Linked DNA regions of Homo sapiens: region 1 is linked to region 2. Evidence: promoter capture Hi-C in human tissues and cell types (Jung and others, 2019). All regions are on one chromosome and are shown on one strand. Each heading gives the region's core, a stretch centred on a gene start or on the middle of the fragment in contact. The rest is flanking DNA. Distances are from core to core; before and after follow the strand shown. Region 1 has its middle 21 kb from the start of MAST2. Region 2 holds the start of CCDC17 (coiled-coil domain containing 17).

What was found. Contacts are between HindIII fragments. The study calls those that stand out against the background at their distance.
Region 1: a fragment that was not itself captured here is called in contact with the fragment with the promoter of CCDC17 in region 2 in 1 of the 25 tissues and cell types used here (ovary).

What each region holds. Positions count from the first base shown.
Region 1 is chr1:45,780,758-45,784,125 of GRCh38, reverse strand. It overlaps the pseudogene RPL6P1. Among named protein-coding and RNA genes, the nearest start is that of MAST2, 21 kb to the left of the region's middle. The HindIII fragment of the contact is 4,024 bases long and covers 1-3,310 here.
Region 2 is chr1:45,621,871-45,625,589 of GRCh38, reverse strand. It overlaps CCDC17 (coiled-coil domain containing 17), which reads left to right and starts at 1,536. Exons shown (of 13, transcript NM_001114938.3): 1 at 1,536-1,854; 2 at 1,938-2,033; 3 at 2,151-2,373; 4 at 2,473-2,635; 5 at 2,756-2,839; 6 at 2,923-3,041; 7 at 3,242-3,349; 8 at 3,595-3,713. The coding sequence starts at 1,681. The HindIII fragment of the contact is 15,886 bases long and covers 1-3,719 here.

The sequences.
Region 1 (3,368 bases), core at 49-2,548, 160 kb before region 2:
AAGGCGGAGCTTGCAGTGAGCCGAGATCCCGCCACTGCACTCCAGCGTGGGCAACAGAGCGAGACTCTGTCTCAAAAAACAACAACAACAACAACAACAACAACAACAAAAACCTAATAGTTAAGTACTGGCCTAATAAATTATGATATCCTGTTACAATGCAACCTTATGCAACCATTAAAATGATACCAAATAAAAAGGATATAGCAACACAGAAAATGCTTTTGGCCGGGTGCGGTGGCTCATGCCTATAATCCCAGCACTTTGGGAGGCTGAGGTGGGTGGATCACAAAGTCAGGAGTTCGAACCAGCCTGGCCAATATGGTGAAACCCTGTCTCTACTAAAAATACAAAAATTAGCCAGGCATGGTGGCGTGCACTTGTAGTCCCAGCTACTAGGGAGGCTGAGGCAGAAGAATTGCTTGAATCCGGGAGGTGGAGGTTGCAGTGAGCTGAGATTGCACCACTGGGTGACAGAGCGAGACTCCATCTCAAAAAAAAAAAGAGAGAAAGAAAATACTTTCAATGTAACCTTAATTATATTAGCAATGTTCCATGTATAAATTCAAATAAACCCAAAGCATATGAAGTAATAAATGAAAATTCACTTCAGGGTAATTATTACTAGAAGTTTTGTGTGTCTGCAAAATTTTTCTATGCACACAAAATTGTATATCTCAATACTTTTACTCTTCGTGTGTCAAAAATTTTCCATGTCATTAATAGTTCTCTAAAACATTAAATGGCAGTTTGATAATGTACTATGCAAATAACTTGTAAGTATGTACTCAATATTCCCATTATTATCAGTAAAGTATGATACAATTTTGGATGCAAATAATCAAAACTCACCCAAGCTAGCTTAAGGAAAAGATATAAGCTGCTATAAGGATACTGAAGTGTTTCTCAGGATGCAGAAGTAGGAATACAAAAAGTGACTAGAATGTAGGTGAAATGCTCCAGAGAATATTTTGTCTCTACATCTTATCTCTGCTTCTCTCCACATCTCTGCCCCTATTCTCCTCTCTCTGCAGACTGGCTTTCTCTGTTTTTCAGTCTATCTGGAGGACAATAGCCGTGATACAGTTCCTAAATTTTCACACTCCTTCCATTCTAGATATCAGTCCAAACTAAACCAGAATTCCTAGGTGAGAAAGACAATACAATTGACCTAGTTTGGCCAGGTGTCTACCCCAGTCTAATCAACAGTGGTCAGTGGATCAAGGTTCTGCTTCTGAGGCTTGAATAAGAAAGGTGGTGATGTGAATCAGTTCCACTATTCTCAAAAAATGGTGAATCATTTGTGAGCTGAGAAGATACCCCAAGAGATGTCTACTATAGCCTCCATGTGTCAATTTCTCTTCTTAGAATGGATAGATTAAGTGAAATTATTAGGTCAAATGATATGAGCATTTGAAGACCAATTGCTTTCCAATCTACTTTTATTTTTTATTTATTTATTTTTTTTGAGACACAGTCTTACTCTGATGCCCAGGCTAGAGTGCAGTGGCATGATCTCAGCTCACTACAGCCTCTGTCTCCCAGGTTCAAGCGATTCTCACGCCTCAGCATCCCCCATATAGCTGGGATTACAGGTTTACACCCCCCCACCCCCAGCTTATTTTTTGTATTTTTAGGAGAGACAGGGTTTCACGATGCTAGCCAGGCTGGTCTGGAACTCCCGGTCTCAAGTGGTTCTCCCACCTCGGCCTCCCAAAGTGCTGGGATTACAGATGTGAGCCACTACGCTCAGCTCCAATCTACTTTTTTTTTTTTTTTTTTTTTGAGATGGAGTCTCGCTCTGTCACCCAGGCTGGAGTGCAGGGGTGCTATCTCAGCTCACTGCAAGCTCCACCTCCCAGGTTCATGCCATTCTCCTGCCTCAGCCTCCTGAGTAGCTGGGACTACAGGCGCCCACCACCATGCCCAGGTAATTTTTTGTATTTTTAGTAGAGACGGGGTTTCACCATGCTAGCCAGGATGGTCTCGATCTCCTGACCTCGTGATCCGCCCACTTCGGCTTCCCAAAGTGCTGGAATTACAGGTGTGAGCCACCTCGCTTGGCCCCAAAAGCTTCTTAAGCTGATAAACAACTTCAGCAAAGTTTCAGGATACAAAATCAATCACTAGCAGAAAGCACTAGCATTCCTATCCACCAACAACATCAGGTGTCTGGGCTTCCACAGCTTCTTCTTCTTGAAGTAAGTATCAATAAGATGTTTGGGGATTTTTACATTGCCGATATCAATTTTGGTTGAGGTGGCAATGACAAATTTCTGGTATGTTCTTCGTAGAGGAATTCGATTGAGGACCAGAGGTCCAGTCACAAGTAACAAACCACTAGCCAGCTGCTTCAGGAAAACCACCTTCTTGCCCCTATGGCATCCAGCGAGGATGATGAGAATGGTCCCGGGAGTGATGCTGGCTCGCAGTTTTCTCACGTGCTGACTGAAGGATTTTTTGCCATGGCTCAACAGCTTTCGAGGCACATCTTCAGTAGGATAATATCTAGGCATTTTGCGAAGTTTAACCACCCGGGCACCGCCATTCTTGTCACAACCAACTGGTTTTGTAACAGTTGCAAGAACCTTCTCCTTCTTTTTCTTTTCAACCTTAGATTTAGCGGCTGAGTACTTCCTCTTGTACATGGCCTTTCTGGAATACATGGCAGATCGGCAATACCTGCCAATTCCTCTGACAAGGACAGGGTTGCGGCTGCAATGGGGCTTTCCCTTCTTGGGCTTTTTAGCCTTGAGGTTACCCTTTTTCACCTTGCCACCAACATCAGCCTTCTTGGCTTTGGGTTTCTTCTCTTTAGCATCTGGCTTCTCAACTTTTTCACCCACCATCTTGCAAGATGGGAAACAAGTGTCTGCATTTCTTCCAGTCTGCCCACACCTGTTCTCCAGCCACTGCTGTCTCCTGCCTGGTTCCCCTCTCTGCCCTGCCACCAGTTCTTCTGGTCCTCTTCTCCTCCCTGGGAGCCATAGCTGCCTTTGGGCTATACAGGTCTCCCAGCTCTGTTTTCTGGAAAGACAATATTTGTAGAGAAAGTTCAGAGGTCCTCATTAGCAGGAGTCAACACCGCAGCAGTCTATATTGCAGAACAGAAGCTGGGCACTTACATGTGGTATCAAAGCATCAGCTGCCTGGAGAACTTTTCTTTGCTAGTGCTGCAGATAGAGCATGCAGTTATGCAGACCAAAGTTTCATTCTCCTGCCCTGCATCTCTCCATGATTTCACCCGCCCCACCCACAGACTCCAATACACAATTCAATCATTGCATTTTGTGTATGGTGTTGTCATTATCTATCTCCCCCTTAAAGTACTAACTCCGGCCGGGTGTGGTGGCTCACGCCTGTAATCC
Region 2 (3,719 bases), core at 287-2,786:
CGGGGGAATCACGAGGTCAGGAGATCGAGACCATCCTGGCTAACACTGTGAAACCCCGTCTCTACTAAAAATACAAAAAATTAGCCAGGCATAAGGCTGGGCGCAGTGGCTCACGCCTGTAATCTCAGCACTTTGGCACGCCGAGGCGGGCGGATCACAAGGTCAGGAGATCAAGACCATCCTGGCTGACACGGTGAAACCCCATCTCTACTAAAAATACAAAAAAAATTAGCCGGGCACAGTGGTGGGCACCTGTAGTCTCAGCTACTCGGGAGGCTGAGGCAGGAGAATGGCTTGAACCCGGAAGGCGGAGCTTGCAGTGAGCCCAGATAGTGCCACTGCACTTCGGCCTGGGCGAAAGAGCGAGACTCCGTCTAAAAAAAAAAAAAAAAAAAAGCCGGGTGTGGTGGCAGGTGCCTGTAGTCCCAGCTACTGGGGAGGCTGAGGCAGGAGAATGGTGTCAACCTGGGAGGCAGAGCTTGCAGTGAGCCGAGATCGTGCCATTGCACTGTAGCCTGGGCAACAGAGCGAGACTGTCTCAAAAAAAGAAGAGAAAAGGGTGTTTCTTGGCCGGGCGCAGTGCCTTACGCCTGTAATCCCAGCACTTTGGGAGGCCAAGGCGGGCAGATCACGAGGTCAGGAGATCAAGACCATCCTGGCTAACATGGTGAAACCCCGTCTCTACTAAAAAATACAAAAAATGAGCCAAGCGTGGTGGTGGGCACCTGTAGTCTCAGCTACTTGGGAGGCTGAGGCAGGAGAATGGCGTGAACCCAGGAGGCAGAGCTCATTGCAGTGAGCTGAGATCGCGCCACTGCACTTCGGCCTGGGCGACAGCGAGACTCCATCTCAAAAAGAAAAAAAAAAAAGTAAAGAGGGTTTCTTAAGAAATATGCGGTCACCTCAGAGCTCCTCCATATATTTTGGGAGTGGGAGTGGAGTGAAGAATTTCACCAACAGTTCAGGGTCTTTCTGGCTTCTGGCCAATCTTGGGAGAGAGAAGGGGTTTTTTTCTGGACTTGATTCCCTCATCTGATAGATTCATTCTGTTCGCCCACAGCTTTCATTTCTTGGGCTGTGCTGATTATCTTCGTCTACAGCTGAAAAATGAGGAATCAGGGAATGGGAGTTAGGGAGACTGCTATCCCTGGTGCGACATGGTTTCCAGGCAGAATGCTGGAAAGGTCAGAGTGCCTCCTTTGCCAGGTAGTTCTCTGGATTGGAGAATGGTACAAACTGTTACATCCACTTGGGAGTACAGCAATGAAAAAGATGACACTTGCCTTTTAGAGGCTATTAAATGACCAATGATGTAGTAAGTGATAAGGGCCCAGCCTAGTCTAGGAGGCAGCTGCTTTTTCCTCTTTATTAATAGTCAGGGAAACCAAGCTACAATTAGAGACTTGCCCACGTTCAGACTTTGTAACACTTTTTCAAGCCAGTGGCTCCTCCCAAACGGCCGAGGTTTCCCCACCCATTCTCCTGACCTGCCCAGCCCTGTGGTTGCTGTCCAGGGAGCTAAGGCTCTCCCCAAACAAACTTGAAGATCTCACAGACCTAATAGACACGGCCTTTCCTCTCTGCCTCTGGCTTTATGTCTCTTTCATCCTCCTCTGCCTTTCCCCTGCCCTTGATCCCTTCTGCAGGTCTTGGCTGGTTTCAGGAAACGGGTCCCATCCCATGGACTCCCACTCTGGGGAGCCTGCGCTCCTGCCCTGTGGGACCTGTGACATGGTTTTCCGCTCCTCAGCTCTGTTAGCCACCCATACTCAGCGCTTCTGCATTGGCCACCCGACCCAAGAGATGACATTTGGAGCACAGGCATCAGTTGCCACTGAACCCCAGCGGGCCGCGGTAAGGGCCTCCATGGCCATGGGTGGGGATTCAAAGGAGCCAGGACCTTTATGATTCCTCATCCTACTACACCCTATCCCCAGGTTGTGCCACAAGAACACCAGGGCGTGCCACAAGAACCCCAGGGCCTCCCAGACCAGCAGGCCAGTAGATCTGCTCTAAAGAGGTTAACAGAGGAGGTAGAGCTACCTACCTTCCCCCAGGGCTCAAAACGTTGAGCGTCTTCCCCAAACCTGTAGATCATACTTGGGACAGATTCTGCCCACGCAGAGATCGCGGATCGCTGTTACCTCCAGGTGCAGTGGCTGCGGCTATCCCTACAGGAAATGCGGCCCTGGATAACAGAGGTCCCCAGGGTGTTCGCGGGGCCCTGGACACGTTCCGAGGCGCGGCCTCAGAGTCCCATGTCCGAGGCGGTGGGAAGCCCCAGCGAGCGGCTGCGGGCGCTGTTCAGGACTCGCGCGAGGCGCGTGGCGGAGATGGAAGCGCAGAGCCGGGCCCTGCAGCTACGCGGCGAGGGTGAAGGAGATGGGGGACGGGGACCAAGGACCTCCTCTGCCCTCGCCGTTTGGCTTAAGCTTGCTCGGGCCGGTTCTGACTCGGCCCGCATTCCCTCAGAACTGAGCCGACGCCTCCAAGTTGTGGCCTGTACGCGGGGCGGGATGTCCCGCCTCTTCGGCCTGGAGCAGGAGATTCGAGAACTACAAGCTGAGGCCGGGAGGACGCGGGGAGCTCTAGAGGTGTTGGGGGCCCGCATTCAGGAGCTGCAGGCGGAGCCAGGGTGAGACCCGACTAAGCGGATCCCCGGAACATGCGGCTCCGGGGTGGGAGGGGCGGGCTGGCTGCAGCCCCGGGGCCTCTGATGCGTTACCGTCTCCCTGCGCGTCGCCTGCCACCCCAGGAACCCGCTGAGCTCCCGGCGAGAGGCAGAACTTTATTCTCCAGTGCAAAAGGCCAACCCGGGAACTCTGGCTGCCGAAATCCGGTGAGAGCCGGGGCCGGAGATGGGCATAGGGCGAAGCGCTGAGCAGTTCTGGAAAGACGGCCTTCCTGTTCCCCACTCCCTAGGGCGCTGCGGGAGGCCTACATTCGAGACGGGGGCCGGGACCCCGGCGTGCTGGGCCAGATATGGCAGTTGCAGGTGGAGGCGTCTGCACTGGAGCTGCAGCGGTCGCAGACCCGCAGAGGTGAACAGGAGGGCCTCTCGCCAGCGGTGGTCAGTCCTGGGAGGAGAAAAGAACTCGAGGGAGGGCCTGTGGCTGTGGATGGCATGTGAGCTGACAAGTCCAGCCTTATCCGAAGAGCCTTAGCGCTGGAGAGCTGCTCACAGCCGGACGCGGCCAGTCACCAGAGGTCAAAGGTGACAGGTCACACTTGTTCATCGCAGGAAGGGCAGGTGCCACCTCAGGGGAGCTTCCAGTAGTGGAGGCTGAAAACCGGCGCTTGGAGGCAGAAATCTTGGCCTTGCAAATGCAGAGGGGTCGGGCACCCTTGGGTCAGTGAGCACCCCAACCCTATCCCATCCCACTTATCTCTCCCCAGCAGGCCTGGCTCAGGCAGACAGTGCATGGGGAACAAGACCCGTGTTTGTGACTCCCCTAGTTCATGTCTGCACGTGTGTATCCCTGTATCCACAGGGCTCCGCCAACCCATTTGTGGGCCCAACTCTTGGGGGAGGGGTATCTCAGCTAATTACCTGCTTTGTCCAACTTAGGGGCACCCTAACTCTTCTGCTCCTAGGGCCCCAGGATCTGCGACTCCTGGGGGATGCCAGCCTACAACCGAAGGGGAGGAGAGATCCCCCACTCCTCCCGCCACCGGTGGCACCACCGCTGCCACCACTTCCAGGCTTCTCGGAGGTTCAG